Regions from separate parts of the Homo sapiens genome. Here all the other regions are linked to region 3. The links are contacts of gene promoters, found by promoter capture Hi-C in blood cells and fetal thymus (Javierre and others, 2016). All regions are on one chromosome and are shown on one strand. Each heading gives the region's core, a stretch centred on a gene start or on the middle of the fragment in contact. The rest is flanking DNA. Distances are from core to core; before and after follow the strand shown.

Region 1 (7,705 bases), core at 3,857-6,356, 290 kb after region 3:
GGTGTGACCTCGGCTCACTGCAACGTCTGCCTCCCGGGTTCAAGCAATTCTCCTGCCTCAGCCTCCCGAGTAGCTGGGATTACAGGCGCCCGCCACCATACTCAGCTAATTTTTGTATTTTTAGCAGAGACAGAGTTTCACCATGTTGGTCAAGCTGGTCTTGAACTCCTTGAATTCACTGCCTGTCTGTTGTCAGTCTCCTGCACTAGAACATTTGACCATTGGAACTGTGTCTCTCCTGGTCATTGCTATATCCACAGCACTTACAACAGTTCCTCGAACTAGAAGGAGTTTAGTATGTATTTGTTGAATGGATGCATGAATGAAGGATGAAGTAATATGTGAACAAATAGAAATTCCTTTCACCTGAGGAATCTGGTAGATTGGAGCGGGGAGGAACAGAAGCAGGTGGAAGTTGAATGCCTGCTAGGTGAAAGGTACTTCACTGGGCTTAATCTAGATAATCTAAGATGCTCAGTATAGTTCCTGGAACATTAGCAGTCACTCAGAGTTATTAACTGTAATTAATGACTGTTGATCTTTTGTCATAAATGTGTCTTAATGAACTTGTGAAAATGGTATTATTTTCTAGCTTTGCACATTCAAAAAGATCAAATAACACGCCCAGGTTTACAGAGTTTGGACTGAATCCACCTGGTATGGCAAACACAAGAGCCCATGCCAAGGGGTAGGAAAGAGAATATGGAAATGTTCATCTCCTAAGGACTAAATTATTATCTTTATTTGAATATAAGTAAATGAATTTTAACTACATGTCATCAAACAACAGGTTTTTTCCACTCCAAACATGAGTTTTTGTTGTTGTTGTTGTTGTTGTTGTTTTGAGATGGAGTTTCGCTCTTGTTACTCAGGCTGGAGTGCAATGGCATGACCTTGGCTCATCACAACCTCCGCCTCCTGGGTTCAAGTGATTCTCCTGCCTCAGCCTCCCGAGTAGCTGGGATTACAGGCACACACCACCACCCGGCTAATTTTGTATTTTTAGTAGAGACGGGGTTTCTCCATGTTGGTCAGGCTGGTCTTGAACTCCTGACCTCAGGTGATCCACCTGCCTCGGCCTCCCAAAGTGCTGTGATTACAGGCGTGAGCCACTGCGCCCAGCCCAAATAATGAGTTTTTATTCCTGCTTTCTAAGTTTTTTGACCTGATAGTGACAGTCAACAAGGTAAGAAATGGGCTTTACTAAACTTACAAAGAAAAATCCTGTTGTGATCCCTTCTAAAAACTGCAGGTCCAAACCATAATAAATCAACCCGTGCTTGAAAGCACGAACTGTATATACTGGCACCCTATTCAGCTAAGATAAAAACGACAAGTCCTTCAATGATAAATTGTCCTCTCCATGTTATCCAATGGAAATACTCATATTGTCCAATACCTACAAGCAATTAGAAGGATTTAGTTTAACTTTCAAATTAAAAGACCATTAAAAAGAAACATAGTTCCCCAGTCTGCCTCTGAAAAATATTCAGAAAACCTTCTTGTTCTTAAACTTGGAAGGAATTGGTACTTAGTCTCAGATTTCCTTTTATCACACAGCAATTCAGCCAGCTATTTGGAACTGTGGGTTACAGGAAACAGTGGGATAAAACAGAAAACAATGCAAGATCTTTGAAAAGTTATTTATCAATTATATATTGTCTATCAAGAACACCTAAAACTTAGAGCAACCATCCCTCCACCCACCACCAACAACAAACACCAGGCCTAGGAATAGAGGTATTTAACATCTAACATGATACCTGCATCCCAATCTCTGCCTTCATTATAAAGCTACCCAAACTGGGGGAAAAAAGTGAGCTTAAATAGGTTTTTGAGTGCAGATCCATTTATTTTTCATCAAGTTTGAAGTGTGTTTATTATTCTTCTTACAGAAGTGGTTTTCCTCCTCAATCTATTTACTTACCTATAGGATGTGAGTATAAATTCTATAAGATCTGAAGGGAGGATGTTGATAACTTTCATGAAATAAAGCAACATTAGTTTTCTACCAATAAAACCTGGCAATAAAGCTTAAACTTTCAAAATAAGGAAAAAAAAGACAGAGGAATTTTCATATGTATTTATAACTGCATATTTTAGATTTCTATTTTATATGAATATGTGGTTTGATGTTTAGAAGAGGATTGAATTAATGATCATGAGACAAGAGTCACATAATTAAGGCATTAAAACATACCAGTTTTTGCAATTTTGCATACACACACAGAAAATCAGTGTTCTTATAACATGTATTCTCAAATGAATATTTAAAATTTGTTAACATCCACTAATGAGATCACAAGAAGAGAAAAAAAATTTTTATTCATTTTGTTTATGATGTTTCTATATAATGCTCCTAGTTTTTCAGAGAATTCACTGAGTTTTAAAGCAGATCATAAAATCTAAACCTTGGCTTTTATTATTCAGGTGGCCTCATTTTGCCCTTCATCTTTTTTAATAATTGTCATTCCATCCATTGTTCCTATAGTTCTGCACCTAATTTTGTGAACAGATAAAAGGGGAGCTTTTAGTGGTTTCTGTCCCAAATTCTCTGGCCTATTTCTGCTCTCAGCTTTTATTGCCAAAGGTGTGAAGATCAAAAGATGCTCTTTGCTGATGTGTTTACTTCCTTGTAACAAACCCTCTCACAACAAAGGAGTTCATTATTTACATCTAACATGAAAGAAAAAGTTCCAAAGCCAAAGGCCTGCATCAGACAGATGCCAAGTGATGGAATTTTCTTGCCTCACACTTATGGAAGTTAACATCATTAACACCCAGTTAATCTAAATGTCTTCAAGAGCAAAAAACATATCTTAGGGTAGGGGTAAAGCTCTGGCTTTCCCATGCAGTTCCTTGGCTTTGCCCATGCCTTCAATCTTTCCCAACAGGGTGGTGACATGGGCTCATTTCATAAGCACAGAAAGCTCTCGCGACAGCCCATGGAAACATGAACCGTTATTTACTCTGGAAAGAATGACTGGGAGCAGCTGTGCCCAGCAGCAGACAGCACTAGAGGCAGAAAATGAGGCCGTGTCACCAATCTGTTATTATTATAATAACTAATGGAGAGAAATAAAATGGATTACCAGCACTTACTCAAATGGGGACGGGGACGTTTCCGATGCTGCTGCAAGACAGAGGCTTCTCACGGTTTATGATATCATCAGACTTCTTAATGAATTTACAGTCTAGTAATCCTGCCATGGCATTAGTTTTCCACATGCAAATCCCTGGCATCTAAGTCAATTCGGCAAATGAACAAAACTAGGGTACTCTATTGGGTCAAGTTTATTTCAACCTAAGGGAAAGAGATGACTAGCTTTCTTCCTATTCCCTTATCAAATTTATTAAGCCCATAAAAAGACTGGTTTGAATGACATCTTTCCCCACACTTTGCATATCAGTCTATATTTTTATATGTCTGCAATATCACTACCTTATATCTGTCAGAACCAGGTTCCTCTCAATAATATTCGTACTGATTCACTTAACTGCTTAGTCAAACTATATTATAGATACTTAACCATCTTATCCATTTGCTGACTATACTCCATGTCAGTGTGCTAATTTTATGACTAATCCATGTTTCCCAACAAGACTACATATATCTAGGTCAGCAACCAGGTTTACATAATCCTACCTGTACCAAATCCTACCAAAAGAGTATATAGGTGCTTTTTAGAATGATCTATATCCAGAGGCCCCAACGTCATTATTCATTCATTCATTCAAGCTAGGAACCGACTCTGTTCTCTTTTATGGGAATGGTGTTGCAGGGAGAGGACTCCTTTCAGAAGTTTGAGGTTCCGTGTGTATCCTAGACCCTACCATACAGACTCCTGTGAGTCCACAGTGTGAGGTCCTGATGAAAGCAGGTCTAAAGCCACAGTTCACTCAGGTCTCTGTCCCTATACTCTGGTACCAACTTAGATCAGGGAGTGGCTACAAGACAAAAGCTGATGGAGGAAGTGGGAATTTTGGAAGTGAGGCTTAGAGAGGTTAAGCAATACTAACATATTTTCATCTGCATCTCCTGTGAGACCTCATTCCTGAGTCCCATACCAGTATTTCTACCCAGATTCTACAGACATCTCATATTCAACATGTAGAAAAGAGGACTCCTCATCTCTCCTTTCAAATGGACTTCTTTCCTTGTGTGGTGATCTCACTTATGGGTTCCAGCATCCCATATTCTCTTTTTTTTTTTTTTTTGAGATGGGCTCTGTCACCCAGGCTGGTGGGCAGTGGCACGATCTTGGCTCACTGCAAGCTCCGCGCCCCGGGTTCACGCCATTCTCCTGCCTCAGCCTCCCGAGTAGCTGGGACTACAGGCATCTGCCACCAGGCCCGGCTAATTATTTTTTGTATTTTTAGTAGAGACGGGGTTTCACCATGTTAGCCAGGATGGTCTCGATCTCCTGACCTAGTGATCCGCCCGCCTTGGCCTCCCAAAGTGCTGGGATTACAGGCGTGAGCCACCACGCCCAGCCCCCATATTCTCTTAAGAGACACCAAAACCTGCCAATCCTTGCTGTTAAATATCTTGTGAATACAGCCCCTCCTCTTCAATCACACAGGTAGGAGCACTGCCAAGCCCTATTCCTTCACATGAATGACTGCAACAGCTTCCTAACCCATCTTCCCACCTCTAGTCTTTTTCCCTTTAATTGCATCCACACCAACATTTATCTATAATATCCTCACAACATTTTGCTTCTTAAAATCTTTCTGTGGCTGGCTGTAGCAGATAGTATAATGTTTAAGGTCTTTAGAATGGTAAAAAGTCCTTTGAGGTCTATCGTAGCACGCTCTCTTAAGTACTCTACCTCTCTCCCAGCCCAGTTCATATCCCATATACAGAATGTCTTGTCATTTACTGAATGGTTTTCCTTGCTCTTTTTAAACTCTTGTGACCCTGTACATGCAAGGTCTAGAACTATTTTCCTACTTATCTACTAGTAAACTACAAGGAAAGCAGGGATATGCTAGGTTTCAGTTAGGCAAAATGTAGAGAAAGTGTTCTGCAATTAGGTAGAAGTAGTTTGGGAGTGAAAGCGAACACAAATAGGGTGGGGAAGCACAGAGTATGTGAGAATGAGACTTCAAAACTGACTAGTGAACCACATTCATTTCCTTTACAGCATTTATCTCAGTTATTACATGCTTAAGAGGAGTTTGGTCTCATCCACCTCACACACCAGAAGGCCTGAAGGGCAGTGAGGGTAAGGTGGGCATTCCCTATTCAGAGTGATTGCAGCCTCTAAAGCCAGACTGCCTGGGTCTGAAACTGAGCTCCAAAACTTATCAGATGACTTTGGGCAAATTACTTATTATTTCTATGCCTTCACTTTCTCAGCTGCAAAATGATAACCCATTTCAGAAGGTAGTTGTGAGAATGAATGATTTAATGCACGCAAAGTATGAGGTTGAACCATATGAAATTACTATTTTTATATGTCAAAATACTCAAATATCAACAAGTTTATATGGCTTATCCAAATTTTAAGCCAATGCCTAACTGATTATTCCTTTTTATAATGCTTCTAAACCATTACTCCCTAATGCCTCTGATGTAACAGCCTCATTTGTTGAATTTCATATTATCCAATTATCTTTTCTCATTGATGTCCCCCTGCTAATATCCTGGTCCCTCCATAACACTTATTCATGACTAGGGCACTTGGCAACAATCTTTAACATACCCTTTGTGACAATGAGTGACTTCAGTATCCATCTAGACAAGCCATCCAATAAACTATAAATTCCTCACCTTCTTCATCTCCATGGTCACAGATTTCCAAGGTCAAACCCTGCAACTAATTATCTAGTGGGGCTGCTTCCTATCCATTATGTGAAGATGACCACAATCTCTGATCCTTCCAGGCTCCCCGTGCCTTTGCCCTTACTACCTCTGCTCTCCAATCTCTGGAAAACCATAGTTCCTTGACCTCTTTCCTGGCCTCACTGCTTTACCCAGTTGGGATAGCACGGCTCATTACTTCAACCATTCTTTCACTAATATCTTTAGAATCAATTCAAACGTAGACTTCTGTATTTCTGTGACCAATCTGTTGAGCTCAGCTGGAAAAAAAAGTCAGCTTTCAGATTGACGCAACTATATAAATCTGCAGTCCTCAATCTCAAATAGGCCATCAACGTGGCTCAACCTCCTACTCATTCTTGCTTAGCTTGCTCTTATTTTACTAAGCAATGTTACCAAACTGTCATATTGCTCAAGAGCCCAAACAAGGCTACATCCTTCTCTGCAGATGACATCATTTTCTACTTCAATAAGAGAATTATACATACATTATCCCAATATTGTTCCCCTCCCCTTCTTAGATATGCCTGGACCTGTCCTTGTGCACTTTCTTTCAATGACAGGATGAGGTATTCTTACTCCAGGTCAAGATCCTGCCCTGCCCTCCACACATGGCCCCCCTTTTCAGCACTCCCAGGACCGAGCTCCATTAATTATCCCCTTTACTTCCTAAATCTTTAAATTCTCAGTGCCTATTTACTCTTTCCTCTAAGCCCAGAAACCCATTTAAATCTTTTATCAAATGAATTTTTTTTTCTTTTTGCTTCTTGAACCTGGGTTGCACCCCAGAAACCATACCCTTCCTTCTCTTCTAAGGCAAGTGACTTGAAAGAGAGGTTTGTGCTAACCCTTCTCAACTTTCTTACCCTACCCATTTACTTTAAAACAAGACACAATGTCATTCTGCCCTGGCCACTGGACTGAAACTTCTCTGATGAGACACCAGTGAACTCCATAATGCCACACCTGAGGAAAATGTATCAATTCTCTCCTCTCATTTTTTCTTATTTCTCTGTTTTTTCCTTTCCAGTCTCCCTCATGGGTTCCTTGTCTTTTGTTTGCTTCTTAAATGTCTGTATTACTCAAGGCTTCACCCATGGTAATTTGTTCATTCTATATATTCTCCTTGTGCAATTTCATTTGCTCTTGATTTTAAACACCACTGATATGGGGTGACTTCCAAATCTGTATTTCCAGCCCAGATTACCTCCCATCACCTTCCATGTTTATTTACCTGGATAGCCTGCCTGCAAGGACTTAAACCCAACATATCATTCAGTCTTTTTTTTTTTTTTCCCCCAAAAACATAGTTTTTCAGGACCTACTTCATACTACTATTCAACAGTAAACAAGACAGCAAAACAGGTCCTTTATCTTAATCCCTGTTTCTCACTCGTACCCCTAAGTACAATTTAGGCTACAATAAGACCAAACTTTCTGTAGTTTGCCATTTTTTTGTTCAAAGAAGGTTAAACACTGAGGGCGTATGAACATACTACTCTCCCAGCCTGGAATTCCCTTCCCATGTTCTTTTCAATTCTTAAGACTTTAGGAGAAGTCTCATCCTCCAAGGTACCTTCCCTAAATTGCCACGTAAGGCTAGGTGCCCTTGATCACTGCCTTTACTAGAATGTGCTAAAACTATCTCTTTGTACATGTTTTCCCCAAGGATCCCTAAGGCAGAGATTGTATCTCTCTGTGAACAGCATACTGCTTGGTACATGAGTAATACATGTTTGAGATTGCCCAAGTAGATGTGCTGAAGTACTGTGATGCTTTTCTGACACTCCCACATACCGTTGCACTTATCTATTTGTAAATCCTACTCCTTCTCCTTGCTAATACCAGGTTAACTTTCCTGAGCATGTTGTGTCTCTT
Region 2 (7,409 bases), core at 1,501-4,000, 310 kb after region 3:
ATAAAGTTGTGGAAAAAGAACCAATAGTGAGAAAGAAACTACAGCTACAGAAGGGAAGGGGGTATTTGATGGGCAAGATTTAAGAGGCGATGCTTATGATCCAAAGCTTACATGGAGGTGGCTGGGCGCGGGGGCTCACGCCTTTAATCCCAGCACTTTGGAAGGCCGAGGCAGGTGGATCATCTGAGGTCAGGAATTCGAGACTAGCCTGGCCAACGTGGTGAAACCCCATCTATAATCTCATCATTAGCCGAGTGTGGTAGTGGGTGCCTGTAATCCCAGCTACTAGGGAGGCTGAGACACAAGAATCACTTGAACCTAGGAGGCGTAGTTTGCAGTGAGCCAAGATCATGCCAGGGCACTCCAGCCTAGGTGACAGAGCAAAAGTCCATCTCACAAAAACAAACAAAGCTTAGATGGAGGGGACAGAATCGGAAACCAAGAGCAATACTTCCAAAGACAGGAAAAGGAGAACATGTGTAAAGATGTGAAGAGGTGTTGGGGGCAGAGGAAGGAAAGCAACAAAGAAGAAAGGTGAGGAAGGTGAAGGTGTTTGTGAAGGGTGAGAGTGGTTAAGGAATAAGTGGAAGAAAGGGCATGAAAAGAGTGTTAAAGCTTTGGAATCATGGCTTAGCAATGAGACAGAGGCAATAAGGAATGAATAAATCTATTATTGACAGGACCCATTTGAAGCTGGAAACTTAAAAACGTGTCAGTCAATGAACACTTACTGAATAACTCTGAAGTGGCAGGCACCTTACAACCTAGCCAAGGACTCCAAGGTCAAGTCCGGGAGTTAGGCAAGTAAATACGTCATAACAATGTGGTAAGCGCTATGTAAGAAGTCTACATAGGTTATATGGGAGAACAGAGAAGATGCGTTTAATTCAAGGGTGGGATGGGATGTAGTTTCCTGGAGGGGGAATATCTGTAATCTGTGAAAATGGAGAACAGGCCATTCGAAATTCCATCTTATTTCCTTCCAGGATACACTAATGTGGAAGGAAGGTACATGACCATACTCTATGTAAAATCAAGCAATTAAATACATTGGCACTGAAGGATCTTCATCATCAATGCTCCAGGAAGTTATTTCATTATCATCAAAGAGTTTGATAGGCAAGACTAACGGAGCTCCAGGAAAATATGATTAATTTTTTTCACAGTCTTTCACAAGTAAAAAAGTGTCTGGCTTTGGCTGTATATCTTGTTAGAGTTCTCAAGCATTGCTGGGAACTGTTCTGAGGAACTGGCTTCCTGATTCAACTTGGGCCACTAAATTCCGGTTTAATAATTACTTCTATTATCCCCCAGAGCCAAGCACAAAGCAAATATTTTCTTAAATGCCTTCGCTAAAAAAATCAATTATCTAGCCTTTGTTTTCATCTTTTAAAAATGTTGTAGGTATCTTTCCATGAGAAACAAATATTCCGTAGGTCTCTGTTTATACTCCTTGTCATTTACAACTCTGAAAATCAAAGTCTTTACTAAGTTTTGCTAATAGCTCTGTTCCATCCTCTGTGTGAGCATGCCACTTTATTACTACAGAGAAGACTTGAGTTCTGACCTGCAGGTTCTTAATAGAAAAAACAGCACCCCATTGCTAGAATGATACAGCCATAGAATTGAAAGGGGCCTTGAAACCACTTGTGTAATCACTTAGGTGATGAAAGACAAATTACCCAGCACTTGATCTAATTTTCTGTTTTAAGTGAGAGAAGATACCCTTTCATTTACCATTATATAATGGAATCTTTGTAAGAGGCAAAACAGATGAGAGGAGAATGGCAGGATTTTTCTATTCAAAGTGATTTTGCCTTTGCTAACATTTATTGTGGGCTTATTTTATGCCAGACGTGGTGCTTAGCACTTCAATTATTTCATTTTACCCTAACAATAATCCTAACAGTCTGTTGTGACTTTTTTTTTTCTTTTTTTTTGAGACAGAGTCTTGCTCTGTGGCTCAGGCTGGAGTGCAGTGGTGTGATCTCAGCTCACTGCAATCTCCACCTCCCGGGTTCAAGCGATTCTCCTGCCTCAGCCTCCTGAGTAGCTGGGATTACAGGTGGGCACCACCATGCTTGGCTAATTTTTGTATTTTTAGTAGAGACGGGGTTTCACCATGTTGGTCAGGCTGGTCTCGAACTCCTGACCTTAAGTAATCCACCTGCCTCCACCTCCCAAAGTGCTGGGATTACAGGTGTGAGCCACTGTGCCCAGCCCAGTTATTCTTATTTTATAATGAGGAAATTGAGGCTTAGAGAAACTGAGAGTCAAACAGAGGTTGAGTTCTTTTTCTGGTTTTGCCATTAACTGATGAGTGACTGTCATCAAGTTTCCTAATGTCCCTTGTTTGTGTTAAACTGGGAGCCATTATGATACCTATCTCACAGTGTGGCTGGATTATTATGTGAGATACTGGCCCAAAGTGTGTCTAGCATGAATATTATACTCCCTCTTGGCAGCAGGATGGGGTATCAGAGAGAACCTGGGCTGTGGAATTAGATGACCTGGGCTCAAAGCCCAGCTCTACTATTTCTTAGCTATGTGATGTTGGGCATGGACTTCAGCTTCCTGATCTTCAAGTTTGTCACCTGTGAAATATGAAGACCAATATTTGTACCTCACAGTTACTGAAGTGTTAAGTGAGATGAGCCCTCATACAGCTTGCTTAGCCTAAGGCTGCTACAAACTGAGATGCCACCACCTTCTCCTCCTTGAGGGTCACATGTACAACAAGGTAACTCTCTTAAGGGTGCAACAAAAATAAGGAATGCAACTTCTAAGAAGACTGCAGGGGAGCTTTAAGAGACTTACAATGTGGGAAGAGAGGCACTGGTCAACCACAGAGCAGGTCAGTGTGGGAGGTATGCCTTGGTGCCTTCTGCCTCCAGCATGGGCAGACTATTTGTGGATCAAGGAAGACAGGATTCCTCATGAAAGGGCACAACTGAATAAGCTAGCTAATTGCCTATGTGGACTGTTTGGGCAGTTCTCTGTCAGTATAGACTGAGTTTCTAGGAAAGGCCATCACTGTGGTTTCATTATCTATGAAAAGCACATTCCAGTAGAAATGACAAGTAATCAGTGTTTCAAATATATTTATAGCATCTTCCTATTAGCAAGACAATAGGAACAGCCCTCACAAAGTCATCTTAGAAAAGACTGGTTGGATTTTATTGAATTCTTTAAAAATGCAAGGATTTAGGACCCCATTCAAAGGTAAAATGGTCCAACGTGGCATGAAATAGAGACAGATCAACTGCCACCTTCCTAGGACATAATAATTATACAACTCCAGTCCAGACAAAGTGACATAAAGGCATCTGTACCTCAAACTGCACCCTCAGAACCTCTGCACTACTTCACTTCCTTAGAATTTCATTGGTTATCTGATTTCTCAGTCTAAGAAATTCTACTTCCTTAGAATTTCATTGGTTTGCCCTATGTCTAGAAGCAAAAACTAGACATAGGGTAGAAGGTAGAAGCAGGTCAGAGGAACAAAGAAACGATTGGTTATAGCTTAACCAATAACTTAACCAATATAAATAAATGATTGTTGACAACACAGAGGAAGTAGAAAATGAAATACAAAAAGATAATATTATTTAATACTTCATATGCTGTTTATATACATAGCATTGACCTTTAAGTATGCAGCTAAGTATGAATTACTTTAAAATATATTTTTATCAAGATGACAATTTTTAAAAAAGTTCTGGCACTTGATAGAGAAAAGGAACAGTCATGAGAAAATCCACCTTCAGAGACCACTCAGTTCAGTGACAAAAACCAAATCAATGAGAGGCTATATTCTGGGTTATTTCCAAAACTATCTACAATCCATTGCCCATTTTGGGGGTATACCTCTATAGCATTCTTTTTTTCATTATGCAGAAAAACAATCCAACATATAAAGATTGAAATTATCCTTAACTAATTCAAATAAAATCTGTAAGACACGTTTTCTTGTGTTTCTTCTTAGGAATATTCATGAGCAATTTAATAATAACTGTTTCTGTTTTTTCCCTTCTTCACTCAAAGCTAGTAAACTATAGATATTATTTAAAAATATAGGGTAGAAAGAGGAAATTCATGCTTCTTGAACAGTGCTCTCTTTCTCTCTGTGTGTATGTGTTTAAAAGCCGTGTATCTATGCCTATAAGAACCAAAGCATAGTGTTTTCTAGCACCAGAAGTTTAATAAACTGAGAATGTAAATGATCCATTCCTTGTGGCTTCTATTCCACAATGACTAAGCCAACCATGAATGAACTCCACACAGATCCTGAATTCTTTACACTGGTTCTCAGAGTTGGAATTTTTGGGGCTGGGGTAGGATCAGCCAGAAAATTATTCTGTTTCCTCAACTTGAACAGACATAATGACTGGCAGAAGAACAGCTGAGGAAAATGTTTGAATTGTATAGTGATAATTTGCTCATTATGAAAATACCTTAGATGTCTAGCTTAAGCCAAAATAATCCAATTGAAACTGCCCTAATTTGATTTAGGAGACAAATTTTGTGATCAGAGACTATATCAGATCTCAAATAGAAATTGACCCTTATTCCCCTTATTAAGTCAACGAAAAAAAAAAACACATCTATAGGAGACTGTGGTCTGTGCGACTCTTAACAACCTCTGGTGATGCCTGTGCCAAATCTATATATTCTCTTTAACAGCTTCAGAGTTGGCCCTAGGTCACATGTGCAGTTACATATGGTCCACTGGAATAAACAGTAATTTTTAAAATAAATTTCAACTAAGGGTGTGGGGGCAGGTATTCTTGCAGATTGACTTACTTATAGGTTCTCTCACTATTACTTCAGAACCTCATCTAAGGCAAGGGTCAGCAAAATATGGCTGTTTTGTAAATAAAGCTTTATTGGAACATAGCCACAGCCATTCACATGTATATCATTCCATAGCTGCTTTCTGGAAAGATAGAGTTTGAGTAGTTGTGGCAGAAACTGCAAAACCTAAAATATTTACTGTTTGGCTCCTTACTGAAAGAGTTTGCTGACCCATGATCTAAGGGTACCTATTGGGTCAATTAGTCACTGGATGTCATTAGGGAAGAGACATAAGGTGGCCAAGCCCAACATAGTGGGGACTGTGTATATGTGGTGGGGGAGGTGGTCAGGCAGCAATGATGGTACAAAAACACTTGCTTCATCACTATTTCTCATCTTTCTTAGTCTACTATCTCACAGAGTTGCAAATACATGAGCTCTACTAGGTCAAGTCCAAGCGATTTTTACCAGGGAGACTGGACTAAAACAAAATCTCATCATTTGATGACTTTCAAGACAACCTCATTCATTCAATCATTCATTCATTCGACAGAGTACATACTATGCGCAAGGTATCCGTGAGCAAACAGACCACGTCCTGTACCCACAGGACTAAGGGTTCAGTGGGGGAGGTTGAAATTCTTTAGATAATAATATAGATGTAAGTAAAATAGCTACTGTAATTACTGGTAGAAGAAGGAGGTCTTAGTGCTACTAGAGTGTATAATGTGGTTATGAAGTCAGGGAGGACTTCTCCAGGAAGTATCAGCTGAGGGCTGAAGGCTAAGTGGGAGTTAGCTGAGTGAACAGCTGAGGGAAGAGGCCCAAGCAGTGAGCACAGCACAGGCAAAGGCCTATGAGTGAGAGAGAAAATAGTTAAGTGTAAGTGACTTAACTCAAGGCCAGCACGTTAGGTGCAGAAAGAGTGACAAAGGGAGGGGCATGAGGTGAAACTGTGGGCCAAACCAAGCAGGGCTTGGATCCCTCTTAACAAGTTTTGAGTTATTCCAAGGGCAGAGTCAAACCCAATAATCCCTGGGTGACAGCCTTCCCCTCCCTCCAGCTACTACTGTCTCCGTGATCAGTTTTTCTCTCTTTCTTTCTCTCTCTCTCTCTTTATTTTTACTCTCCTTTTAATCTTGGGCCAAATACATAGCTCTGTTTTGAATATTTACCTAAGTCTCCAGCACCATATTCAATGAGCACAAAGCAAAAGGAAAACATAACAAAGAATTTAACACACAGCTTTTTCTGAATATATGAAACGTGTAAAGAGAATCGTGGGCTGCCTCCATTCCTCTTTCTGTCTGGGGAGGCGAATATTGGAAATGGTGAGTGGGGATAGTCATACAGCCATGGGCCACTTCCTGCTGGGAACAGCACATTTTAAAACTTCAAGTATACTATCCGATGAATGAAATTTTGTAGCTGAAAAGGAAGGAAAGTCACCAGGGGAGACTAGTGAAAACGGAAGATAATATAAAGAAGTGAAAAAATCTCAGGAATAGGACATGTGCATCATGGCCCTGCCACTTATTAACTTTGTGGCTTTGGGCAACTTACTTAACTTTTCTAAGTTCTGATTTCCCTACCCATAGAAATAAGAATAATCAGGCATCCATCACAGAATTGTTAGGATTAAATGAGATGCTGTAAAAATTTCTAACATTTAGTAAGAGCTCTGGTATAACTATCATCCTTTTCCAGTAATATAGTCTATTTCCGATACATAGCATGGACACAGAGAAACCAGGGCAAGTGGCAAGAGAAAATATAGATAAGGAAGTAAATAAGAAAAAAGTCCTATCTACAGTTACAGTAGGTGGCTCCTTGTGCTTTATAAACTTTACCTACTTTTGTTCTCTAACCTAATGGTTCCAAGTGACTAAGTGACACCTTAAAATGACCTTGTCCCCAATCCTCCTTAGCAGGTAGCCAAAAATACATATAAAGTCGAAGGTAGAAGCATACCTTTGATTATGAAAGTAAAGGTTATTCTGGGAAATAATTAATGATATCCAAGAATATGTATAAAGCAGCAACAGAACAACTCAGCCTGATACCTCCCTAACACACACACAGCTGATTAAGAATGTCCTTGGTAATAATTGTGATGGATTTTAAGGAAAATATGAACAAATCAAAGAATTATTTCTACATGTAAGTCTCATTCTGATTCTCAGAACTTAGAAGACCAAAAAGTAAAAATTCTACTTTAGATACATAATGGCTAAAAGAACCACTACAAATATTTCATTGTGCAACTCTAATCACCTTTTAAGTGTTGTTGTACCTTTCTGATTAGGAAATTATAACATAAGCACCATGCACTTCTTTGTCTTTCTTAGGAAAATATTAAGTACTTTGAAATACAGCCATGTTAGTGCCCTGAGAAAGATTCCAAGGTTGCTATAGAATTGTTTGTTTTTCCTTCTTTCAACTGATAAAACGTACTGCGAGTAAAATTGCCTGTTGAAAGGTGGGACTATACGTGGAAGCACAGACAGTTATGCATTCCTGACTTCCTCAAGTAAAGAACTACTATACAACTGACTTTTTAGACAGAGCTGAAGAACAAAAATCCTAAGTATATTTAAATATTTAACCAAGAAGCC
Region 3 (6,833 bases), core at 468-2,967:
ACTGCCGCCGGGCTGGACAGTAGTGGCTCGATCTCGGCTCACTGCAACCTCTGCCTCCCGGGTTCAAGCGATTCTCCTGCCTCAGCCTCCCAAGCAGCTGAGATTACAGGCACGCGCCACCACGCCCGGCTAATTTTTATATTCTTAGTAGAGACGGGGTTTCACCATGTTGGTCAGGCTGGTCTGGAACTCCTGACTTCAAGTGATCCGCCCGCCTCGGCCTCCCAAAGTGCTGGGATTACAGGCGTGAGCCACCGCGCCCAGCCTTCTTTTCAGTTTTAAATGCTGCTACTACATAATTTTAAATTACAATATGTGGCTTCTATTAGACAGCCCTGGGGCTTAAATCCTACTTATTCTTCAAAGCCTAGTTGAAACACTGCTGCTTTCATGAAGCTTTCCCCCAGTGACTCCAACTGCCCCAGCCCCCACCGCCAACCTCTCGTAACACTTTGAATCACACTCACAAAGAATAAGATTAATTTTACCTTGTTACACCTTCCCAACTCCAACATAAGCAAGTTGAAGAAAAAAAAACTATATCTAGATCACCATGAAGTTTTCCTCTGACACCTTGGAGAGCCCAGCGCTACGGTAATGTTTGATGTCTGCTAATGGAGAGCTGAATTTCTTAATTACTAATTATCTATCCCTTTCAACGATTTCCATTTTTTTCCTCTGGGATTAAAGTCGATGTCTATCAATGTCCTGTATTATTTTTAAAGTGCCCATGAGCTGTACACATACAATATAACGAACAAGCAAATCCAAAACTAATACATGTGGTCAATACACTTAGATCAACTGTAAAATTTAGACAAGCCTCTAAAGGTCCCTTTTTAAAAAATGATGTTGTACAACCTAACAGTGTATCGTGAGATCAACTATTTCAAAAGTAGAAGCCTTTCCCAAAGATTAACACTGGGTGAGCAGTTTACCAAAAAATTATTGGCGGTCTTCCCCCACAATCCCGAGTATAAATCAGGTAAGCATGCAACAGCTTGGGTGCAGTAAGAGCAAAGTCCCACACTGCATCCAAAGCTCAGAAATCGAGCTGTGAGAAATGTGGTAGTAGGGGAAAAGATGACTTGCGTGAAGGAGACGAACGATGAAAACTGTTGGAATGCAAAACGAGATAACAGCCAGAATAAAAAAAAGTATACCAACTAAGTGGGAGGGATTCTCCTCGGGTCAACCTCTGAACCCTCAGGCGAAGGTCGCAGTGGTCATTTCAAAACGTCTTTTCTTCACATTGTATTTTAGTGACTCAGATCTGCATCCAACAAACTTCCTTCTTCAGCCTACTCCAACTCCCACAGCCAGGACTCCGGCCAAACCCAGCCCTGAAGCCACCCACTCCAGCACACTTTGGAGACTGACAGACGACACAGGAGGACCGTTCTGAGGCCCAGCACCTGGATGACACCCCTCTCCTTGGGAGTCCCGCCCCAGTCCCTTGGGCAGAACCAGGCAGGCAGGGGGCACCCAGCTGGCAGAGGGGTAGGGCAGGGCACCGGACTTCGCCTAGGACCGGCCTCTCCGTTCCATGCCGACGCCAGACGGCTCCTCGGGGACCGGCAAGATGGTGAGAAGGAAGAATAAAGGGGCATTGGAAATTAGCCCCGGCTTTCACTCACCAGCCGTCGCCGCTCGACGTTGGCAGCGGCGGCACATCTTCTCCTTCCGCCATTGCTGTTGACGTCCACGTCACTTTGCCGAAAAGTGGATCCGGCGCTGAGACCAACTCCGAGACTCAATGTCGTAAAAGGTCTTCGGAAGTCCAGCACTGAGCTTCCCCAGAGGGGAAGAAAGAGGGAGGTGGCAAGGGACTGGAGGAACGCAACGTCACGGCGTCCCGAGGCCGAAAGGCAGCGTCTTGGGGGAGGAGACTTGGTGGAGGCAGCTGCCCCTCCAAAGACTACATGTCCCAAGATGCCACGGTGCCGCGGGCGGGGCGGGGCGCGGTGGACGCCGTCCCAGTTGGAGGCCTTGTGTGACAAACAGCGTGTCTTTTTAGCGTCCACTTAGCGTCTTCATTCCAGCTTGGCGTCGAAATTAACAAAGTTAGAATTTACAGTCCTAACTATTGGAGAAAGCAAGGGAAATGGGAATTGACATAGGGAAGGCGGACGTAGGAGAAGAGCCACAGTTCAGTAATTTCCTGCTGTAGCAATTTAATTTGAAGAAAGAGTGGGACGTAAGGAAAGGGGCAGACCACCCCTATTTGTGAGGCCCCGTCAAAAGTGTAAATGAAGGCCCACATACTTTTTGACTGAATATTTAAAAGTTGTAAATGAAGCTATATACTAAAGGAGATACGTTCTAGCCTCCTACCTTAAATATATCTTCCTAACAGTCTGGAAGATCAAGTCCGAATTTAGAATTCTAGGACTGGAATTCCAGGCAAGCAGAGCTGCCAAAATCCTTCTCTACGCGTTCCACTTCCCCTTTACACCGCATGGGCGGACACTTGGCCACCGCCGGGGCCTTGGGGTGAGCACACGCTCAGGAGGATGGACCTAAAGAAACGCTTTTGCAAGCCCTGAAAACAACAGTGATGAAGTAGAACTGCATGTAACAATATGGATACATCTGAAAAATACGCTGTTAAATGAGCAAAACAGATTGCAGACGGATAGGTAAAGTATGGTATCATTTATAGTTGGTGTTTAAAAGACAATATATTTAAAATAGATCCATATGAGTTTAAAATGCAGGAGAATGATATATAGAAAACTCGGAATGGCAGTTACATTCAGGGAAAGGGAGGAGTTTCCATGAATTTTTAAATATTTATTAAGGGCCCCAAGGTGGCCACATAGGTGGCCAGTGTTCTTTATAGAGTCTATACTTAGGTATCTAAAATGTTTCATAGTTTCAAAAACTATTTGTTTTAAATAGATACAAAACAGTACAGCTATCTCATTTACAACCAAAAACATGTTCACTCTCTTCCCTAAAGGGAAATAATACAGATCTGCATGGTACTGCACCCACTTCCAAGGCCCGGATCTCTGTAATGTTCAGTTCTCTGTTAGGGAACATTTCTTTTAACATAGAATGAGACTGTAGATGCCCTCTATCAAAAAGAATAAAAGACGTGAATCTAGGTCACATTACCATTCTAATATTCAGGACCTCCCCTGGGTCCCTTCAATTGTTGCCAGTAGATTTTCAGAAACTTTTCAGAAAATGGTTTTAAAACCTATTCAGTCATTGACATGAGAAGCAGTTGCTCACTGGTTAAGAAGATTCTAGTCCTCAATTATGATTCATTTTGAGTATAATTAAATCAGCAACTGCTTTATAGTCTCTGGTAAAATATTTTCCCATTAAAAATATGTCACTTGACATTTTTAAACAGTTCTTTATTCTGTCAAAATAAAGTGGAAAGTTCTGACTTCTATGTTCTTTAATGGAGCCAGAGCCAGCTTCATGGGCATGTAGTCTATGCAATAGCATGAGACCACATGCTTAGAAGAACTCTGTGCTTGATTTCATGCTCTGGTGTTGCCATCTTGAAATTCTTAATAATTTGGGAACAAGGAGCCACTGGTTTTAATTTTGCACTAGGCCTCACAAATTAGGGAGCCAGTTCTAGATAGGGTCAATATCTTAGTGATGTATAACCCATTGGGGACAAGATTTCAACCAAAATTGTTTAGCGATAGTGTCTTCTAGCGGATTTTTTTTTTTTTTTTTTTTTTTTGAGACAGAATCTCACTCTCACCCAGGCTGGAGTACAGTGGCATGATCTCAGTTCACTGCAACCTCTGCTTCCTAAGTTCAAGTGATTCTCCCGTCTCAGCCTCCCAAGTAGCCAGGACCACAGGCGTGTGCCACCACGGCCGGCTGATTTTTGTATTTTTAGTAGAGACGGGGTTTTGCCATGTTGGCCAAACCATTTTTCTTTATTATTATTTTATTTTTATTTTTCTGAGACAGGGCCTCACTCCCTCAAGTAGAATTTGTTAAATTCTAATAATGGACCTCTGCTTAAAACAAAACAAAAATGCTTTTCAAGAACTAGAGAAGATTTCATTATGAAATCTTGGAGTGCGTCCCCTGCTTGCATTTGTGCATCTAATTGTAGTTCCCACATCCAAATGGGAAGGTGTATTATTTCATATTATCCTTGGATAAAATCAAAGCGTATTTCTTATAACAAGAAAATTAAAATGTCTTAGTTTTAAATTAAATTATAGAGAACATAAAAAGATTTTTCATTTATTATTTGGTGTTCTGAGCCATATAATTATGTAATTTATACTGTATTACATGTACTTAATTTGTACCATGCCTATGACACATAGTAGAATCTCCATAAATATTTGTAAAATGAACTAGGGAATTTTTTGTAGTACTTTTGTAATGGATTAAGCTATTCACCTATATAGAAATGGCTGGTTGGGTTCAGGGACAGGTAAGGATTATGAACTCATCTGCATAGTCATAGTTGTTATGTGAGTAGAATTTAATTCAGTTTTCATTGTAATATTATTTTAGCATTTGTTAAAAAGAGATGGAGAAATAACATAGCTCTTGATCATTTATTCCATATTCGTGCAGCCTTTTCTTGACTTTCGTGCATTCTTAGATAAAGACAAAGACCTAGTAAGATGTTTTAATCTACTGCTGCACAACAAATTACCCCAAAACTCAATGTCTTAAAGCAATAAACACTTAACTCATAATTTCTGTGCATCAGGAATCTAGAAGCAGCTTAGCTAGATGTTCTGGCTTAGGGTCTCTTGAGGTCAGAGGCAAGATGTTGGCCAGGGTTGCAGTCATGCAGTCATCTAAAGGCTTCAGTGGGGCTGGAGGATCCAGTTCCGTGGTGGCTCACTCACATGCCTGATGAGTTGGTGTTGACTGTTAGCAGGAGGCCTCAGATACTCCCCAAATGAGCCTCTCCATGGGCTGCTTGAACATCCTCTTGACATAGTGGCTGGCTTCCCGCAGAGTAAGAGTTCAACAGAGACCAAGATTGAAGCTACAACATTTTTTTTATTACCTACCCTCAGAAGTCGTAAATTCTGCAATATCTTATTGGTAAGCCTTATTCAATGTGGGAAGGAACCACAACAAAGACTTGAATACCCAAAGACAAGAATCACTGGGGGCCATCTCAGAGGCTGGCTGCCACATGAAGTAATATTAAATCCTACACATTCTTCATTGTTCAGTGAAACTTTCCCCTGAGATTCCTGCTCATATCATCTCAGCCCTTCTTACATTCTGTCGCCTCTGACCTAGTTTAGGACCATCAACAGGCACTCTCATCTGGGCACTACAGCATCTTATATTCTTTAACTCTGAGAATGACAACTATTTTTAAGTTCCCCTGTAGCCTCCAGTGCACCAAATGCAGGGCAGAACATATAGATAGTGCTTAAGAGTTCTTGTTAAATAACAAAATATTGATTTTTGTTTCTGCAGCTATTGTGTGAGAGTTTCAGAATTCTAAACTTTCCCAAGAATTTCCCTTTTTATCTTACAAGGACAAATGGTTTCACACTTATCAAAATTACTTCAGTTGTTTGTCGTTTTAAAATCCCATCAGGACCTGCATTCCCAGGCTCTTTAAACTACTGAAGCTTAACATTTGATTGAATGATGAACAAAACCCAGTTAATTCCCATTCACAGATGACAAGTGAACAGTTGGCAGCAATTTCAACATCTGCTTTTAATTCATTTTAAAATGTTGAGCAAACTGATAAAAAAAAAAAAAGCTGGAAACTCTGTTTCTGCATTATCCTTCTAGTAGTCATCTTCTCTAATTGAAGTTGACTCTAAATAGGTTTTATAGATGGACCCAAAATAAACATTTGGATAGGGATTGACCCATTCTTAGGTTTGAGATGTTTGTGCTTTAATGTGGGAGTCTGTTTAACCCTTTGCTCATTCCAATTTTGTTCCCAAATGTTCCAGGCAAAAGGCTTTTATTGGGGTTGAGTAATTCCTGGTTGGAAATAGGGATAGTAAACAATATGTTAGCTGGAACTAGCCTTAGTTTTTAAAACTGAACTTCCTGCTGTTTCATGAACTAACGGCTCTAAGGACACGCACACACATACAGACACAATCTGAAAATAGTATCCTTCAGACAATGGCAGTGCTATTCTTGATGTATAATTTATCTCCATTTGCCTTATACACTTGTATTCACCCTTCCTTTTTGGTATATATATGTGTTGCCAAATAAAATAGTTAGCAAGGAATCATCTAAGGTAATTGGATGGAATTATATGATATACGCTTTTGACAATTTGTGTTAAAAATATAGGTATATATTACAATTTATCTGGATATGTTATTTACAAGCTGATTTCTCTAATACCCAAGCTAAATTGTACAGCTTGTCATTGTCATTTTCACATCTCAAATTTACATAAGGAAAATACAAAAGTAAACAAAAAGAATTCTTAGGATATCATGAACATAAAAGTGACTACAGATACAAAAGCATCCAAAAGTTTGGATAAATAATTTATTCTCTATAATTTTGCTCACACTTTTTTTCTGGACAATAATAAATTCTCTGTTGTTAATTCTCACTTATAATCTGGTAACTCCTGTATCTCCATTTCCAACCCATTATTACTATAACAATAATGTTGCCATAAAAAACATTATTATTTTAAAAAGTATTAATATTTTCAAAGCATTTATTATTTTAAAAAGTATTAATATTTTCAAAGCATTCTGTGATAATCTGTCAGCAGAGAGAAAGCCCATTTGTCTTCAGCCTATTTGGTATGTACATGGTATGGTGGTACATGGTATGTATGTATATGAAAGCAAATGGACAAGGCCCTCCTGGACATTCCA
Region 4 (6,985 bases), core at 761-3,260, 270 kb after region 3:
GAAAATATTTCAAAATAAAGTCAGAGTAGCTTGCAAGAGCAGTGAAACTGCAGGAACAGGAGGACTAAGATAACAATGTCACAGCTCCAATAAGGAAATGGAGTCAAGGGTTGGAGTCAACTGAGGAAAACATCCAGAGTGCTGTAGTTTTGGGTCTCCAGAAAATGTGGGGGACACAGTAATTGGGTTATTAGATACTAGAATGGGAAGTGATAGTCTTCTTGTCTGGGGGATTTTCCTGTTTCCTCACTCTTGCCTCACCCCCACCTCTACATTTAGTACCTAGAATCCTAGACATGCAGTCAAGAGCCCCTGAGAAAGCAGAGCAGAACTCAGACCAGAGCATATAAAGCAGGAATCAGAACAGAGGTTGGCTTTGTGAGCTTTGGAGTCATAAGCCTCACTAAACTTACATTTAATTTATCTCCAAGAAAATTATAATACCCATGTCATACAGTTGTTGCTAGGTCCAAACAAGATAATGTATATGAAAGCACCCTATGAACTGTGAGTGAATCACAAAACAAATGCTAAGTAAGTTTATGAGATGGAAGAATTTGTTGAGAAAAATAATTCCTAATTTTTCCTTTGAAGTCCATAAAAAATGTACCTGCTCTAAAGGTATAGACACAGTCACACTACACTTCTGATAATTCCGTACAGAAATTTGAAAACAGAAAGTTCCCAATTACTCCGAGTGCTGAAAGAAGCTTTAATAGAAACCAAGGCAGAAGCCAGGAGAATGAAGGCACCTGCCAGATTTGGAATAAAAATTACCAATGAAAGAACAGCCCAAGAACAATGGGTCAATGGTGGAAGTTTAAGTGTTATTATACTATGTTTCTGTAAAAGTTATAGAGGCAATCCAGACAATGCTTTTTTTATGTTTAAAGGAAACAAATAGAAAGGGTTAATTTCTTTTTTGTTTGCATCATCTAACTACCAGTCAGAATCAAACCAAGAAAATACAACTGGACTTTGGAAATGGTCTTTAAAACAAAGTTTTTCTTATAAGAGAAACCTACAGAATTGAAGATATATTTCAGACTTTCTTTTTTTTTCCTTTTCTTTCTTTTTTTTTTTTTTTTTTTGAGATGGAGTCTCGCTCTGTCGCCCAGGCTGGAGTGCAGTGGCATGATCTCGGCTCACTGCAACCTCCGCCTCCCACATTCAAGCGATTCTCCTGTCTCAGCCTCTGAGTAGCTGGGACTACAGGCACATGCCACCATGCCTGGCTAATTTTTTTTTTTTTTTTTTTTTTGGATTTTTAGTAGAGGTGGGGTTTTGTCATGCTAACCAGGATGGTCTCCATCTCCCAACCTCGTGATTTGCCTGCCTAGGCCTCCCAAAGTGCTGGGATTACAGGCGTGAGGCACTGCGCCCGGCCAAATTTCAGACTTTCTAAAAAGAATATATGGTTGGATTAAAATAAAGATAAAAGATCCCACAATTCTTTTAGCTTTTGTTCACTTATAGAAAAAAAAGTTATTGAAACTGAAGAATATAAAAAGAAGATTCTTAAGAAGTATGTATTGACAAGCAATGAAATTACAGCTTAACCTTACATTTTGGTGTACCAGCTTCTTTTTTACTTTCATTTGATTAGAGAAAAAAGAGCTATTCTTAAGAAACAGAATGATGGCCTGGAAGAACAGTATCCTCAACATCTTTCAAGAATCCAACAGGATGAGAGACTGGCAGCTCTGTTCTAGAACTATGTGCATTATTGTTTGCCAGATCAAGTTAATGAAATGTTTACTGCTAGAATGTTATTTTTTAAGTTAATAAAAACATTTCTTTTTGCTGACTTGCTCATTGGACATATGCATGCAATTTAAAATGGAATTTCAAAAAAGTTTCATTACATGCACCTGTGAAGAAAATAACTGAGGTCTTGGGACTGTGCTAAACTAATTCTGACTTTGGGTCATGTTAATAACAGAATTGTTAGTCTTGTCAGACATGTGGCTTTCTATTTTAATAAGATTAAGGCCAGAGGGTTCAAACTCCCTTAGTTTAAATAATCTCTTGCACTTAAATATTTTTTCTTTCTTTCTTTTTTTTTTTTTTTTTTGAGACAGAATCTCGCTCTGTCACCCAGGCTGGAGTGCAGTGGCACAATCTTGGCTCACTGCAACCTCTGCCTCCCGGGTTCAAGAGAGTCTCCTGTCTCAGCCTCCCGAGTAGCTGAGATAACAGGTGTATGCCACCACACCCCGTTAATTTTTGTATTTTTAGTAGAGGCAAGGTTTCACCATCTTGCCCAAGCTGGTCTTGAACTCCTGACCTCAAATGATCCACCCACTTCAGCCTCCCAAAATGCTGGGATTACAGGAGTGAGCCACTGTGCCTGGCCTTTTTTTTTTCCCCTTAAGAGACAGGGTCTTACTCTGTCCCCCAGGCTGGAGTGCATGGCATGGCCTTGGCTCACTGAAGCCTCAACCTCCTGGGCTTAAGTGATCCTCCTGCCTCAGCCTCCTGAGTAGGTGGAACTACAGGTGCATGCCACCACGGTTGGCTAATTTTTGTATTTTTTTGTAGTGATGGGGTGTCACTATGTTGCCCAGGCTGGTCTCGAACTCCTGGGCTCAAGCAGTCCTCCTACCTCAGCCTCCCAAAGGGCTAGGATTATAGGCATGAGCCACTGTGCCTGGCCTAAATATTTCTTTGTATACTCTCCTAATATGTTCTTGTCCTCCTAACTAGATCAGGGTTTCTCCACCTTGGCACTATAGACATTTTGGTCTGAATAACTCTTTGCTGTGGAGGGTTGTCCTCTGTACTGCAGACATTTAGCAGAAACCCTGGCTTCTACTCACTAGATGCCATAATACTTCCTACCATCCCCTGGGGGTGGGGCAAAAGAATCCCCCGCTTAGGGCCACTAGACTAGAGGAAGAACCATTCTCCTCCTTCTACTTGAGTTCTTAGGCCCACACCCATCACCACTTCATTTAATCTTCATCAATTTCTTCAATTTCTTCTCTCCATGTGCAGTTGGTAATTCTCTTTGACAAACAAGTATCTTAATTCTCCCCATTAAAAAAATAAAAATATACCTACCAACCTCATATAAGCCCTGTAACTCCTGTTCTCGTCTATTTCTTTCACTATCAACTTTCAGAAAAACTAACCGTCACTAGTATGTCTAAAACTGTGTTGTTAAAAATAATGTATGCCAGTGATATACTTTTTCTTTATTTAAAAAATATGCAAAACCCCCTGAAGCACACATACTATTCTCTTTATTTTACAATGATATGTCTTTATGGCAATGGAGTGGAGGGCATATCTAATGCCACAAGCTTCATGAAAAAACACCTGTTCCTGGGACATATCCCATTCAATTTACAGATTGATGCATGAGCAACATCTACCAACCATTCTATTGATGTAAGCTATCTTTACATCTTATAATTTGAACATATTTGAGATATCTGGTTCTTATTAAAATAAAAACAATTTAGATTTTCTATCTTTTTTCCTCTTATAACAATGAAAACACAAGTGAAATAAATTTTAATATCTTATAGACATTAATTTATCTGTGAATAAACTTCTTGCTGTTGACTTGGGTCCACGTGCAAACTGTATCTCATTAAGTCCTATTAGTATCAAAGTATTGTGGTACAAATGTGTTCTGTGGTCATACTGACTTTAACCCCCAATGTGTTTTATGAATATATCCAACAGAACTTTAAAAAGCTTTTCTCAGGCCCGGTGCGGTGGCTCACGCCTGTAATCCCAGTACTTTGGGAGGCCGAGGTGGGTGGATCACCTGAGGTCAGGAGTTCGAGACCAGCCTGACCAACATGGGGAAACCCCATCTCTAGTAAAAATACAAAAACCAGCTGGGCATGGTAGCAGGTGCCTGTAATCCCATTTACTCAGGAGGCTGAGGCAGGAGAATTGCTTGAACCCAGGAGACGGAGGTTGCAGTGAGCCGAGATCATGCCATTGCACTCCAGCCTGGGCAACAGAGCGAGACTCTATCTCAAAAAAAAAAAAGCTTTTCTCATGATTATAAAAGAAATTCACAAGATTGAAGAGAAATATCAGACTTTAATTTTAAAAGTATGAATTGGCAAGCTCACCTTGTTTTTTTGAGACAGGGTCTTGCTGTCACCCAGGCTGAAGTATAGTGGTATGATCTTGGCTCAAGCTATCCTCCCACCTCAACCTCCCCAGTACCACAGGCGTGCACCACCATGCCCAGCTAATTTTTCTATTTGTTGTAGAGATGAGGTTTCGCCATGTTGTTCGGGCTGGTCTTGAACTCCTGGGCTCATGCAATCTGCCCACCTCAGCCTACCAAAGTGTTGGAATTACAGGCGTGAGCCACCATGATGGGCCCTAGATCACTTTCTTGAGACTAATTTTAGAGAACCAATTGCAGTTTTCTCAACCTTTTAAAACAACCTTTGACCCCCTAGGATGATTTTTTGTTCAATCTTCTCTTTACTCCAATTAACTTTTGAACTTTATTTCTAGTAGTCTGTGTTTTAAATTAAAAAAGGATAAGCAGAATATGCAACTTCTAACCATATATACCTGGTACCCTGCCCCTTATACCTTCCTCACGGCAACCCCTTTAAGTATTTATTTTTAACACGAGTTATCTCATTTCCACTAAATCTTTTCTTCTAAGAGCAATATCCTCAGTTTATTTAACCTGGGAATTCCAGTTGTCCAAGTTCCTTATTAACCTAATCCTGTGTTTGTTAATATCTATATACTGTGCTTTGGGGCTGATGTTTGGCAACAAAGAATGTACTCAATAAACATTAGCTGAATATGATCCTTGATTTTATCATATACTTATCTTACCTTCTCAACCAGGCAGAATTCTGAGTAAAACATAGATCTTTCTATTCTTACTACACATCTTCCTACATGCTAGGATTCCCTCCCCCACAGTAGCCAAAGTAATTGGCCAGAGAGGAGGCTTGGTAGATTTGGCAAAGGTGCTCATTCTTTCTAAAAAGCACTTGAAGGGGGAAATTTTGGGCAAAGATCTTCTAAGGGTAGATACCTCTTGGCAGTGTGCAGAATGAGTTTCAGTGACCAGGGGCTAGAGGACCACTGACCACATCAGAAATTTATCAGAAAGTTAATGCAAATGATAGAATTTCACAAATCTTTAGAGTTCACAAAAAAGTTATCCAGGCTCATGAGCTAATGCAGACTAACTGGTGCCTCCTGTTTCTGCTCTGTCATTATCTATCAGTAATAAATGGTTTAATCCTAAAAATATATTATGTGGTTTTCATTCTTGGCTCTAGATTACATGTGGAGAAGACAAAATATAGCCTTTCATTTTGTTTGACAGGACACTCTACATAATAAATACATGAATGGCTACTAGTAAAATTATACTCAAAGAATGCAGTTTTGGCTCTCAAACAATCACATTCCAATTTCACTTTTTAAAAATTCTGCTTAAGCCAATTTGTGATGGACTTCCAGAACTATGGATCAATTATTTCATACCTGAGCACCTGATATTCTTTTACCTTTGTAGCTGAACACACACACACACACAAACACACATACATATACATCCTTTTTCATGCTAATTAACATATCACAGAAGTTAGGAGATTAACCAATAAAACAAAACAACAAAAATCTGTTAGGTAACTGATTTATATCTTGTGGTATAGGACATTTTCCTCTCTTGGCCTTCCTCTAGGCTGTTTTGTGACCAAATCTGTGCTGTTACTTCTTCTGGCAAGTTATTCTACATTATAAGTTTATTTCATCAGATGGTCCATTCTCCTTTGCTTTCATCCTCTGATTTTACTTTTCTTGCTAGCTACAGGTAGAGTTACATGGAATATTGGGGTCTGAACAGTTGGAAACAGAGATTCTAGGTAAATAATGTGGTACTTCTCATTTCTTTTTTTTTTTTTTGAGACTGAGTCTTGCTCAGTCACCCAGGCTGGAGTGCAGTGGCACCATCTCAGCTCATGGCAACCTCCGCCTCCCCGGTTCAAGCAATTATCTTGCCTCAACCTCCCAAGTAGCTGGGATTACAGGTACCTGCCACCACACCTGGCTAATTTTTTTCTTTTTGTGTGTGTATATATATACATATATATATATATATATATATATATATATATATATATATATATACACACATATATATATATACATACATATATATACATACATACATACATATATATATATATATATATATATATATATTTATTTATTTATTTTTTAAGTAGAGACAGGGTTTCACCATGTTGGCCAGGCTGGTCTTGAACTCCTGACCTCAGGTGATCCGCCTGCCTTGGCCTCCCAAAGTGTTAGGATTACAGGCATGAGTCACTGTGCCCGGCTGGTACTTCCATTTCTTTATATCAGTGCTAGAGAGATTTCTTGGCTACTTCAGTAATTCAAAGAAGTTAGATAACAATATCCCTGAGAAATTTTTTTTCAAATGGCACTTAAGGCAAGTGAGATAATAGCTGTAAAAAGACTGCACCATCTGAAAGAAAGGCATTTTTAATATTTTCATCATTGCATGTGTTATTCCTGATGGGTACAGAACAATGACTTCCCTCATATTCACACAGTGGGTACAAAAGCACAGCTTATATGTGGGCACCTCAAAGACATTCGCCCTACACATTTTCGTACAGCACTGTATGTATTACTTTGATGTAACAGACTAAAAAACATGTTTAACACAGCTGTCTTCAGCTGCAAGCCTACATTATATGAATTTATTTATTTTTTATTGCTGCATAAATTACCATTTCATAGGGTTGGGCTGTTCAATTGTCATCACAAATTTTATAAGCACATTTTTGAAAAATGAGGAAGGATCATTCTATGAAATACTATATATGGCATTAACAGAATCATGCAAATGAATGGTGGTCTGGTTACTTCCATGATTAAGCACTTCAGTGATTCAAAAATACTTTAAAAAAGTTAGCTGAATGGGCCAGGCATAGTGGCTCATGCCTGT

Evidence for each region. The method cuts DNA at HindIII sites, captures the fragments that hold promoters and counts their contacts. A CHiCAGO score of 5 or more calls a contact.
Region 1: a fragment that was not itself captured here is called in contact with the fragment with the promoter of TBC1D23 in region 3 in 2 of 17 cell types (M1 macrophages and megakaryocytes); the score reaches 6.0 in M1 macrophages.
Region 2: a contact is called between a fragment that was not itself captured here and the fragment with the promoter of TBC1D23 in region 3, in 1 of 17 cell types (megakaryocytes). The highest score is 10.7, in megakaryocytes.
Region 4: a contact is called between a fragment that was not itself captured here and the fragment with the promoter of TBC1D23 in region 3, in 1 of 17 cell types (megakaryocytes). The highest score is 6.0, in megakaryocytes.

Annotation. Positions count from the first base shown.
Region 1 is chr3:99,967,847-99,975,551 of GRCh38, reverse strand. All of the region lies in intron 1 of CMSS1 (cms1 ribosomal small subunit homolog), which reads right to left. All of the region lies in intron 1 of FILIP1L (filamin A interacting protein 1 like), which reads left to right. The region is part of intron 1 of LOC105374010 (a long non-coding RNA gene); the gene reads right to left. Among named protein-coding and RNA genes, the nearest start is that of MIR3921, 7.3 kb to the right of the region's middle. The HindIII fragment of the contact is 6,142 bases long and covers 2,036-7,705 here.
Region 2 is chr3:99,949,357-99,956,765 of GRCh38, reverse strand. All of the region lies in intron 1 of CMSS1 (cms1 ribosomal small subunit homolog), which reads right to left. The region is part of intron 1 of FILIP1L (filamin A interacting protein 1 like); the gene reads left to right. The region is part of intron 1 of LOC105374010 (a long non-coding RNA gene); the gene reads right to left. Among named protein-coding and RNA genes, the nearest start is that of MIR3921, 11 kb to the left of the region's middle. RefSeq lists a silencer at 7,354-7,409. The HindIII fragment of the contact is 4,266 bases long and covers 618-4,883 here.
Region 3 is chr3:100,255,876-100,262,708 of GRCh38, reverse strand. TBC1D23 (TBC1 domain family member 23) reads right to left here and starts at 1,717. Exons shown (of 19, transcript NM_001199198.3): 1 at 1,638-1,717. The coding sequence starts at 1,690. RefSeq lists enhancers at 976-1,644, 1,420-1,909, 1,645-2,313. The HindIII fragment of the contact is 5,201 bases long and covers 399-5,599 here.
Region 4 is chr3:99,982,618-99,989,602 of GRCh38, reverse strand. All of the region lies in intron 1 of CMSS1 (cms1 ribosomal small subunit homolog), which reads right to left. The region is part of intron 1 of FILIP1L (filamin A interacting protein 1 like); the gene reads left to right. All of the region lies in intron 1 of LOC105374010 (a long non-coding RNA gene), which reads right to left. Among named protein-coding and RNA genes, the nearest start is that of MIR3921, 22 kb to the right of the region's middle. The HindIII fragment of the contact is 2,595 bases long and covers 713-3,307 here.